Linked DNA regions of Homo sapiens: region 1 is linked to region 2. The links are contacts of gene promoters, found by promoter capture Hi-C in blood cells and fetal thymus (Javierre and others, 2016). All regions are on one chromosome and are shown on one strand. Each heading gives the region's core, a stretch centred on a gene start or on the middle of the fragment in contact. The rest is flanking DNA. Distances are from core to core; before and after follow the strand shown.

What was found. Contacts are between HindIII fragments. The CHiCAGO score rates a contact against its expected background, and 5 or more counts as called.
Region 1: a contact is called between the fragment with the promoter of ZDHHC23 here and the fragment with the promoter of ZBTB20 in region 2, in 1 of 17 cell types (neutrophils). The highest score is 5.3, in neutrophils.

The regions. Positions count from the first base shown.
Region 1 is chr3:113,944,876-113,951,191 of GRCh38, forward strand. It overlaps ZDHHC23 (zDHHC palmitoyltransferase 23), which reads left to right and starts at 3,138. Exons shown (of 5, transcript NM_001320466.2): 1 at 3,138-3,315; 2 at 3,811-4,088. The coding sequence starts at 3,928. GRAMD1C (GRAM domain containing 1C) reads left to right here. Exons shown (of 18, transcript NM_017577.5): 18 at 523-2,299. The coding sequence ends at 603. RefSeq lists an enhancer at 2,556-3,056 and silencers at 2,771-3,270, 3,621-3,720. The HindIII fragment of the contact is 7,070 bases long and covers 1,611-6,316 here.
Region 2 is chr3:115,144,988-115,150,631 of GRCh38, forward strand. It overlaps ZBTB20 (zinc finger and BTB domain containing 20), which reads right to left and starts at 2,301. Exons shown (of 12, transcript NM_001348800.3): 1 at 2,232-2,301. RefSeq lists enhancers at 977-1,086, 2,817-3,026 and silencers at 1,767-2,036, 2,347-2,516, 3,077-3,296. The HindIII fragment of the contact is 9,545 bases long and covers 1,122-5,644 here.

The sequences.
Region 1 (6,316 bases), core at 1,888-4,387, 1.2 Mb before region 2:
CCAGGTGTATTGTTAATGACAAAGATTACAAAATTCAGTGTCAAAGTGTTAAGTAGTAAGGATAATGCTTTGGGAGTTTATAGGCAGAATGACTGGGGAAAACTACATGAAGAGTGTGAATATGAGTAAGTTTTAGGTGAAGAACATGAGGATGAGAGCATGCAAAGGCACTGAAGCAAACTTGAGTTGTTTAGGGGATAGTGAGGAGACCACTGCAACTTCAGAAATCTTTTAGGAAAACGAGTCTGTCACTACGCTTAATTTGATTAATGGACCTATTGGGAGGTAGACTATGTAGCAGTAGGAAGAAGTACAATACTCCAGCAAATGGGAAGAACTCTGTAGCAATCATACTGATAGATACCCCAAAGAATCAGGTATTTTGTATTTAACGTTTTATTTGGGCATCAGTATAAACAAAACTATATTAAGTGTCACTGTAAATTTTGGGCATAAAAAACAGAAATTTTCAAATCTGATTAGAAAAATTAATCTGATTTTGAAAATTAACTTTGTTTACAGCTGAAGAGCTCACTCATTATGCTTCAGAAAACGTTTGATCTACTAAATAAGAATAAGACTGGCATGGCTGTTGAAAGCTAGTGATCTGAAGGACTAAAACCGCAGAGATACTTGGAACTTAAAGAAAATACCTGGAAGAAAACCAGACGAATGAAGGATTTTGGCATAGAACATTTCTATGTTTTTTCATTATTGAGATTTCTAATATGAACATTTCTTTCAGTAACATTTATTTGATAATTAGTTTCTGCTGGCCTTAATAATCCATCCTTTCACTTCTTATAGATATTTTTAAGCTGTGAATTTCTTCAGTGAACCATGAAATATATTATAGAACTGAATTTCTCTGATACAAAAAGAAAATGACACACCCTGAATTGAGTGGTATGGTCTCATTTCTACAGTGAAGTCTGATGCTTTGTTAGCACAGAATCCGTACATGTCCAATAGGTCGCTTTTGTAACTGAGATAAGACCAAGAGGATAAACAGGACAATATAAGAAGAAACCTCTATGTCATTACTGATTTTAAAGGTTCTGTTTTCAGGCATATAACATTTCCAGGTTTGTGTACTGTAAAGATTATAATGTCTTCATTTATTTAGCATGCAAATTTAATAGTCAAACTTTTTGAATCTGCATGTTGATGATGATTATCAGAAAGGGTCTTCTGCCATGCTGTATCTTTATGAAAGAAATAGTTGTTTTTTCTTAAGGTAACTATCAGAGGTGGGATTATCTTGCCTCCTCACTTAGAATACCAACAGTCAAAAGGAAGAACCATCCTCTGAGTTTTAAAAACCAGAAGGTTATGTTAAAATCTGGGCATTTAGTGACAGATCAAATGCATACTTGAACTAAGATTGGCTTCAGCTTAGCAGTCTTTCATGGTGGAAGTGACACATCTGGTTGAAAATAATTTGTGTATTTTCAGTAACCATGTATGGCTTCCTTCTTTATGTATGTGTGTGACTTGTTTTGATTGGTAAGTTATAAGCCAGACATAGATTTTAGCTCTTTAATAAAAACTTCAGGGGCACGTATGTCCCAGTACAAGTGTACTGACTATCAAGTTTTAACTCAGATGCAAGCTTTGGCTCTTTCATAAAAAGTTTTTATGCATATGTGTCTCCATACAAGTGGCTCATTAAAATAAGAACTTTGTAAACTGACTTAAAATCAGATATTTTTTCAAGAGTTAGGGAAAGTTGAAGTGTTTTACTGTTTTGTCTCTTGAGCCCTTTCTCTGGGGAAAAAATACATATCCATCTATCTATCTATATATAAACTGTGTATACATTCTTACTGTTTGAACAACTATTGCCTTTAATTAAATGTTTCATTTTTCTCCAGAGTCCCCAAAGCCACATGGCATTATTATAGTCATTTTTGAGATGCCTGTAGAGAATGAAAGTATTGACTCCGTTAGAGGGAAAATGGGTTTCTCTGGGTGAATTCCAACGAAGCATACCTAGGGGTAACAGTGAACCTACCTGGGTTTGTTTTGTTTTGGTAAGGATTTATGTAGTGTCTGGCTGTAAGCAAGAATGAGTGGATTATAAACTTGAAGATTTCTCTGTTAAAGTCACAAAAATGATCGACAAACAATATTTTTGTGATGTTTATTTAAACGTTGTATTTTATAACATACTTCAAGGAAGAGTATCGAAGTAAGTTGCTTTATAAATTAAGACTAAATTCGTATGGATGCAGAATTCAATTAATAAAATTTGAGCCTGTTACGTAAATTGAATATTAATAAAATTGAAAATTTCTGAGTTGTAGTTTTTCTTCTTTTTCTACTTAAAAACAAAACTAGAAAGCCTGCGGTAGTGAAACGTGTACATGGGCCCACACTCTTTAAAGAAATTTTGTGCAATAATAAAACCCAAAAAGGACTCTCATCTCAGGGCAGTTTCATCTCAAATACACAGACGACTGGAACAAAAGTACTAGCGAGGCCTGCTGGTCCAATGTAAAGGCTGCTAGCCAGAAATCATGAAACGAACAGGTTGCTAAATGAACAGATCCGGCAGCAGTGATGGGCCTTTAAGAGAAGGTCAGCGAAACTGGGGGAGGTACTTGGATAACATTTTGCGGTGGAAAGCTCCCTCACCGCCTGTTGCCGGAGTCTGAATGAAGGCTGGCGGCTCCACGGTCTCACGTAGTTCGGAAATCCTCCGGGTTCCCGGGTTTCCCGTATTTCCGTCTCCGCACCTCGTCCGCACCCCGGGGCTCCGGAGGCTGTCCCACCGGCGCGCCGCCCGCAGGCACCGGCGGCGCCCGGCTGCCGCCTCTGGGGCGGGGCGGGGCGTGGCGTGGCGGGGCAGGCCGGAGGTGCGGGACCCACCTCCTGCCCCTGCCTCCTGGACGCGCTCTCGGGAGCCGATTTTCCCCTTCCCGGCGCCAGGGCCGCGGGCCAGGAGGAGGAGCCTCGCCCGCGGGCACCGCGGGGAGGCGGGCGGCGCACGTGCGGACAGGCGGGGAACCCCGGCGCCGGGGGCGGGGCACCCGGAAGCGCGCGTGGACCTGGCGCACCGAGCCGGGCGGGCGGAGGGGCGGTTGGGACGGCGCGGGGAGGCGGGCGCGCCGCCCGGGCCGCGGCGGGCTGTGGTCACAGGTGGGCGGCTGCGGCGAGGGAGCGGCCGAGCGGAGCCCGGGTCCCGGAGACTCCTGCCGTCACGCCCGGGGCTCCGCGTAGCAGAGATCGGGAGACGCGTCTGTGCCTCCGGGGAAGCCGACCCATCTCCCCTCCGCCTCTTTGGCTGCAGTTGCACCTCCGGCCAGAGGGCAGGTAACTTCCCTTCCAAGGTCATTCTCCTGGCGGGGTGGTGCGCGAGGCCCGCCCACGTCCTCCGGATTGGCGGGGGCGGGAGAGGCGCACCCTGCAAGGGGCCCGACCAGTTGGGCTGGACCGCGACCCCTGAGCACTGCCAGGGAGCCTGGTGTGTCAGCCGCTGCTAGCGGGCATATGCTTCGCCTTTCCCTATAGCCCCGAGGCTGAGTTCCCACCAGCGCCCAGGCTTGGAGCGGAGACCGCTCGGCCCTCCCAGCCTGCACCCGCAGGTGAGCGCAACCGCCCGCGCCCCGGCTGTCCCGGACGCGTGGTCGGCTGTCGCCATAGGAACGGCTGGTGCCCAGACGGCGCCTGCCCAGGCTGGGAAGGGGCGGTGAAGGCAGCTCAGACCTCCAAGAACCCTGGAGCCCCCTGTGTGGCCAGGCGGAGCCACAGAAGCCTGATGAAAACGGGACCCCCTCCCCCTCTCTCTTCTCATTTTTGATTGCTCAGGCGTTGGAGGTTAAGCAGAGAGAGAGAGGCGTGGACCTATTTACGAGATGTAAGTTGTGTTCTTTCCACCTTTACCTTCTGAGGGCTTCTTACGCCTCATGGTGACAGGTGCAAATCATGACACAGAAGGGCAGTATGAAGCCTGTGAAGAAAAAGAAAACCGAAGAACCTGAATTGGAGCCCCTGTGCTGCTGCGAGTACATAGATCGGAATGGGGAAAAGAACCACGTGGCTACTTGTTTGTGTGATTGTCAAGATCTGGATGAAGGGTGTGATCGGTAAGAACAGAGCATTTCTTGACGCTGGCCCCATCACCCTTCTGAGAACTGCCATGTGTACTTTCAACCTAGCCACCCAGAATGCTAGAATTTGCTCTTGATTCTATTTCCAAGCATCTAAAATGAGAGTTGGCTTCTGTGTCAAGTGTGAGGATTTTAGAAAGATGGATTACGCAGTAGTGCACAGCTGTCTGTCTGCTCTGTTTTATAGGATATTATTTTTCGTTTAAAGAGAGATGAGGGAGAGAACAGGCAGTTTAAAGGGATAGTAGGCAAGTTAGTATAAAATAAAATGCAAGCCAGCAGAATCTGTAAGTTTAAAATGAACACAATAGTTCCAGAAAGTTCCTGCCTTCTCAGAGGTCTCAGCATTTAGAGACTGACTACTTGGGACTGGGTGGCACCTGACCACAGAGGGCCTTGTGGGTTGAAATTTCATTTTCCTGCTGTTAGTACTGGTCTTGCCCCTTGTTTCTGGGGAGGAACTCCAGCCAGAAGGCATGTATCTCCCCTGGATTCACAGTTTTCAGTGCGACCAGCAACACTCTTGATTGATCATACTGTATTTGGCTTTTATTTTCCAAGTGATGGAAATTACTATCCAAAAAGAGAATTTTTAACATCACTGAAAAAATTTGGTGTCGGACAGTGAATAATCTGGTTTTAATCCATTTTCTGAGTAATTATATATTTAAAAATCACTGTCAATGGAAGTCATAATGTGGGAAGGATAGGGATGTTGGAAACTTGCTTTTCCCATTAATAATTATTTCTGGTTAAAAAAGTCATTGCAACTGCCAATTTGTTGACTTAGAACTTGATACATTAATACAGCCATGAAAAGCATTCCCTGGGGTCTGCAGTCTAGTACCAGCCTTGACTATTAAAAACCCAGTGAACCCTTTGTCGTTCTTACTTGACAGTGTACTGTGTAGTCTTTTTTATGGATGTCTTTGAATATAGGTTCTTTAGATTTAGTCTGAAATCTATACTGAGAAAATAGAGCACTTTGCACTAATGAATGGAGAAATGATGCTGTTTCCATAACCACCATCACTCAAGACCGCAGCTCTTCCATTAACCTTGCTAACTCTTCCTCCCTCCTAGCCCTGGAGACCTTGGCTGTCCCCTGAGGCATCTCCTCTGCTCTCTCTGTACCCCTCTCCTCTGTGTTTCCACCGTGCCTGCTGCTCTGTATGATTCCCAATTAGTTATCTCTAAGTTCTAGTCTTACCTTTAAAAATTGTCTAAAATCAAAGTTACCTTTCCTTAAACTCTACCTTTTCTTACTAGCCTGTCTTAATTTGTTCAGGCTGCTATGATAAAATAAATACCTGAGACTGGGTAATTTGTAAACAATATACATCTATTGCTCACAGTTCTAGAGGCTCAGAAATCCAAGATCAAGGCACTGGCAGATTCAGTGTCTGGTGAGGGCCCTTTTCCTCATAGATGACACCTTCTTGGTGTGTCATGACATGGCAGAAGGGGTGAATAAGCTCATAGGGCTCTATTATAAGGGCACAAGTCTCATTCATGAGGGCTGTGCCTTCATGACCTAATCACCTCCTTAAGGTCTCACCTCTGAATACTATTGCATTGGGAATGAGGTTTCAACATAATGAACTTTGGAGGGACACAGATACTTCCTGGCTCCCTAAAATTTATGTCCTTCTCACATGCAAAATACACTGATTTCATCCTAATAGCCCCAAAAGTCTTAGCTCATCCCAGTGTCAATTCAGAAGTCTAAGTCCAGAGTCTGGTCTGAATATCATCATCCAAATCAGATATGGATGAGTTTCAAGATACGATTCATCCTGAGACAAGTTCTCCTCCACATGTGAGCCTGTGAAATCAAACAAGTTAGGTGCTTCCACAATACGATGGTAGGACATGCATAGAATAGACATTCCCATTCCAAAAGGGAACAACAGGAAGAAAGGAGTGTTACTGACAGGTCCTAACCCAGTGGGGCAAACAATGTTAAGCCTTAATAAGGCTTGAGAATAATCTTGGACTTGATGTCCTGCCTTCTGGACACACTGGGTTGGCGGTTGGGCCCCCAAGGCTCTGGGTGTCCCCGCCACCACAGCTTTGTTGCGCACAGCCCACACTGCAGCTCTCATGGGTTGGAGTTCCTACAGGTGCCTCCAGCTCTCCCAGGCTGGAGTTGTATGCTTGTGGCTCTACGGGGCTCTTGGGGGTGACCCTGTCCCCACAGCTCC
Region 2 (5,644 bases), core at 1,051-3,550:
TTCTCACCTGTTTACTTCAACACCATGTGTCCCCAAACCTAAGGCCCTCCAAAATTGAGCTCCATAAAAATCAAAACCCCAATCTTGAAAATTAAGCCTTGAGTACTGAACAGTTACATCAGCAATTCCTCAAGGGCAATTTCAAAAGCTTTCCTGGGAGACTACTGGAAAGATGGCACAGGGATATCACCATGCACTATGTGTGCAACAACTTTGATATATTCTAAGAATCACAAAGAACAAAGGCATGAAAATCAATGTAATTTTTTTTCTTTCACTAGAAAAATACAGATTCTTCATTTTAAAGCAAAAAAGCAAAAAGTAGCCACATCTTGACTGGACAAACTTACAGTTGACCCTCAGTATCCATGGGAGATTGGTTCTGGGACCTCTCTAGGAAACCAAAATCCACAGATGCTCAAGTCCCTTACATAAAATAGTGTAGTATTTGCATTTAACCTAATCACATTCTCCCACATACTTTAAATCATCTCTAGGTTACTTATAACACCTAATACAAGTAAATGCCATGTATTAATAAATCGTTGTTACACTGTATTGTTTAGGGAATTGTGGCAAGAAAAAAACTATATATATTCTATTCCATCTATTCCCCCACACCCAAAATATTTTTGATCTGCAGCTGGTTAAATCCACAGATGCAGAACCCAGGCACAGGAAGGGCTGACTGTATGTGACCGGGAGTGGAGGGGGATCTATATAAATATTTCCACAAAATAGCAAAGGGTACTTGGGATTGGGAGCATGAACAGAAATGAAAACAAACCATTATAAATTTAAAGATGACTGGTTATCACTTAAATTTAGTGTCTACAGCTATTTATTTATAAAATGGTAATTGTGTTTTAAAACTTTCAATGGCAACAAGTTACAACAGTAACTTCAGAATAGCGTTCACTTGAAAACATTGGGTGAATGGCCTCTATAATTTTTTTAGCTGAAATGTATACACCGCCACGCAGTGAGGAAACTTGACTTTAGCACCCTTTTGGTATTTTTAATAGAAAAAACAGTGGAGAAGATTTTCACATGTCTAGAAAGGTAACATGTTCAACTTAGGTTTGGCCAATGCTGATTCTGAGGACAGTACTACACCCGCAAGCTTCCAAACTACTTCCTGATTCATTCAGATTTTCATTGGAGAGCTGTCATCCTGCTACTGACCTCATTCAACCCAGTTCGGAGTGAGAGATCAGCGGATTACCGCGCTAGGTACCGTAGCTGTACGCCATATTGTGTTTTTCGCTAATGTTTAGTTTGTGTGTGTGCCTAGCATATGTTTGTGCAAGTGTGTTTATCAATAGAACTTTTAGAAAATCCCTGCCTCCTGCCTCTTCAGCATCCTTAAAAAGGATAACAGCTGGGGGCGGGGGGTGGGGGGAGGACCCAAAAGCCACACAGACAGGAATACATTAAACAGTGTACGAGAGACGGCATTTGTTTTAAACTTTCAAGAACCTTCCAACCATTTTTATATCAGGAATCAAAAAGTGTTAACATGTTTTAATGTTTCCGAAGTGGCCCAAAGAAGAGAAAGAAGGAAAGGTGTGTCTTCCCTTCCCAAGCCCCCTCCTCTCTAGTCGTAGAAGCGAAGCAGGCGGGGGCCGGGAGCTCCGGCGTCTGGAGAGACATCCAGCGGCTGTGGGGCCAGGACACCTCCTGCCCCCCAGTTCTCTGAAGACGCTCCAGAGACCGCGAGAGCCACGGCAAGCGGGGGAGGGCGAGGAGGGAGGGGGCAGAAGACAAGCGGGCGCCTCTAGCAGCTCCTGAGCCCCGGCTAGTCCCCCTCAGCTCCTCTTCTTGGAAGCAGCGGCTCCAGGCGCAGGGAGTAGAGAGAAGAAGGCAGAAGACACGTTTCCAGCTGCGGGACGTCCCGCCCGCCCCGCCACCCTTCGACCCTCCCGCGCCTCCCTCCCACCTCCCCGCCGGGTCGGGCGAGGCAGCCGCCGGGCGCTAAGAAGGGCGCCGGGGGAGGGGGCGCGGGCGGGGCGGGGCGGGGCGGGGCGCGGGGGCGCGCGCGCTCATCCAGCTCAGGGCCCGCTGGCTCGCCGCTCTGTAACTCGCTCCCCCAACCCCACCCCGCTCCCCTCCTTCCCAGTCCCGCCGCCCCCCACTCCAGGCGCCTCGCAGACGCCTCATCCCCCTCGGCACGCACACACTCCTCCCTCTCTCCCGCCCGTCCCACAACAAATTAGAGTTTGTGGCATTACCTCCTCGCGCTCTTTAATCTTCTTTCCTCAACTCCTAAACTTCCCCCCGCCCCTACTTCTTCGGCAGAAGGCCCACATTGGACGCTTCACTCCGCGAACCCTCTATCTCTCCCCGCTATAGGATAGCTCTCACGCCAATCTTGGCTTCAGTGAGCCAATGAGAATGGGACGCCCCTCGTGAGGTTGCCGCCCATAAACAAAATGCACTCTTCCTTCTCCCCTCCGCCCCCCCGTCCCCGCCCCTTTCTTCCTCTTCCCTCATCTCTGTCACCTTCGATTGGGCTAAAAGAGGCCCAATCCGCTATCTCAAACATCCATTGGGACGCGGAAACTTCGCTCAGAGAAGTATTAACAGGCGATTGGTGGACAATCCTTCCACTTCGCCCACCCCCACAACCCCCTCCCCCCGCCGCACCTTCACCCTTTCTGAAAAGGTCAATCGTATCTCGTTGTTCAGTGATCCGGGAGGTGGAAGGCTATTGGTTCAGGGAGCCCGTCAGACCGGACTGGAGTGAGCCATGATTGGTCGACACAGGCGCAATCAGGTTAGGTTGCTTACTCCTCCGCTCCTCCCTCCTTTTCCTCCACGCCCCATCTCCCCCACCCCCTACTGCTTTTACTTTCTACGCATTTCTATTTCCTCCTTTATTTATTTATTTGTGATAAACTTAAATGACCCGGCGACGGAGGCGGTACTCTAGGAGAAGGCTGAGGATGACGAGCGGCGGCCTGGGGCCAATTGCCGAGAGGGCTGCGGGGTGAGGGGCAGCGGCGGTGGCCAGTGAGAGGCAGGTGTCTGGAGCGCGCTGGGCCTGTGGAGCCGGGATGCCCCAGCGGAGGCGGCGGTTACCCGCTGTCTGGCGCGGCGAGCTGCGCCGGGGGAGCCGCGGGAGCGGAGAGGGGGGTGTCGCTGTCTTGGACAGCTGAGGCAGCGGGATGGAGGCTGGATCCCGGGCGGTGGGTGGGAAAGCCGGAGGGAGGGTCTGGCTGGCGGCAGCGCGCAAGGCCGCACCGGGTCACGCTTGATTCCCGCGGAATGGGGCGCAGGTTGCCAGACCGGGTCCCCAGTGCTAGGGCTCAAGGAAGAATTTGTTCATGCAGAAGATTTAGAAAAATACTATGTAAAAGAGTTTGGAGTAAGCCTCCCTTAATATAAATGAGATTTATTATCCTGCCGGAAAAAGCAGATTATGTTTCTTATTACTGAACGCCTGAAGTACCAACGACTCAACCAGAGCCCACAGAATTCAATATCCTGGGTGGTAAAAGGAACAAATAAAGCAACACGGAAAATTAAGTGTGGTTCAAATGCTTCAATAAAATCTTCGTCCTCAACCATTTGTCATTCAACATAGCACTCCCCAGAGCCAAATTCTTACCAAATATTGGTCCAGTACTCAGGCATTGGAGAAAAAAATGAGGCTGAAGTCCAGCAGGAAGCCCAGGATAGATTCCTAAAAAGGATTTCTTACAAGGGCCAAGATGGGAGGGTTGGGGAAATCGCTTTTCACTATACAAAGAAAAAAAAATAATTACTGCCAAACTAAGTTGCACTTTTTTAGGCAGCTGATATAGCAATATTTTGTCACAAAATAAGAGACTTTATCAAAAATACCATGCATGCAAAGAATACACTGTACTTGGGATTTGAAAATGACATTGTTTCTAGGACATGGATTTGATGTATAATTTCCAATAGACTTAAGTCATCTGGATTTTAACCCAGGCTTCTTTGGAACGTACAGCATGCTTTCACATAAGATGCCTGGTTAGAGGTCTTTGACAGAAACTAAGCAAAATAAATTGGCCCTGGTGAAAAAAAAAAAAGTAAGGGCCTTGACCTCATTAATACTATTAAAGCTATCTTGTGAGGATTATATGTATGAGGCTTTGAGAATCCAGAAAATTACTGTGTGTGGTGTCAATTTTGAAGTCTGGGAATTGCTAGTGAGTTTGGAAGCCAAAACACTTTTAAACTTATATATAAATCTTAGCTAAAAAGTGATATTGACTGGGTGCAGCTGCTCACACCTGTAATCCCAACACTTTAGGAGGCCAAGACAGGCGGAACACTTGAGGTCAGGAATTTGAGAGTAGCGTGGCCAACCTGGTGAAACCCCGTCTCTACTAAAAAATACAAAAATTAGCCGGATGTGGTGGCGCACACCCGTAATCCTAGCCACTAGGGAGACTGAGGCAGGAAAAATCGCTGGAACTCGAGGCAGAGCTTGCAGTGAGGCGAGATCGCACCACTGTACTCCAGCCTGGTGACAGAGCAAGACCCTGTCTCACAAAAAAAGAAAAAAATGAAAAAGAAAAAAAGTGATTTAGTAAGAATAATAAGTATTCCATACAGAACAATCAGCAGCGCATGAGAAAAATCAGTAAAATTTAACATTGGCGTTCACACAGTTACTCCTATAACTTCTCCAAGGAGCAATGACCACTCCTTCCAAGTCATTCTTAAAACTTGTTGTTTTCAACAAAATTTTAAAGGTATTATTCAACCTATTGGCATGAGAGTTAAGATTATGATAGGGCACACTAGGAAAGCAATGCAAGATATTCTAATTCAAATAATAATGATAAGGTGAAGCCCTAGGTATTACTGCCCCTATTTAAGGTAGTAGTTATGTCCTGTTCGTGTGATATTAGAAACTGGAATTAGAATCTTTCTGCCTCTAAGAAATCCCTCAATTTTCATATTTACATTACACATCTACATACCTTGATCACACTCAGATACAAACACCCCAAAAGATGTACCAAGAATTCCATAATTATGTCAAGGATCAAGAGAGATGTTTTCTTGGTTAGCAAATAGCAGAATTGAGAAAAAGAATAAAATAAGCAAGATGTGGTAAGAAAGGAAGGGAAGATAATACAAAAAAACAGCTGGGTGTGGTGGCGCGCGCCTGTAGTCCCAGCTACTCGGTAGGCTGAAGCGGGAGGATCTCTTGAACCCGGGAGCTGGAGGTTGCAGTGAGCCCAGATTGCACCACTGCCTCCAGCCTGGCGACAGAGCGAGACTCCGTCTCAAAAACACGGAAGGGAAGATGATGAAGAAGGCAAGATTGATAAAAAATGAAAATACAAGTGACTGCTTAGAGAAGAATTTTAAGACTTTTATACTTCTTTTAGTCCATTAGTCTACCTATTGCCTTCACAGATTATAGTTTACAGTTCCCAAGGCTCCAGAAGAGGCCAAACTAGTAGCAAATGTAATCTACTTACGTTACTAATGAGGACACAGACTTCGAATACTTTATCCAGCGTCACAAGTAGCAGAGCTTGTTTTCAAACTCAAGTCTGTCTGCCTCTTTCCACTATACTATTTACTCATTCAACAAGTACTAAGTGTGTATCTTCATACTAACTATAATTATTGGACATTTAAGATGCCAGGAACTTAG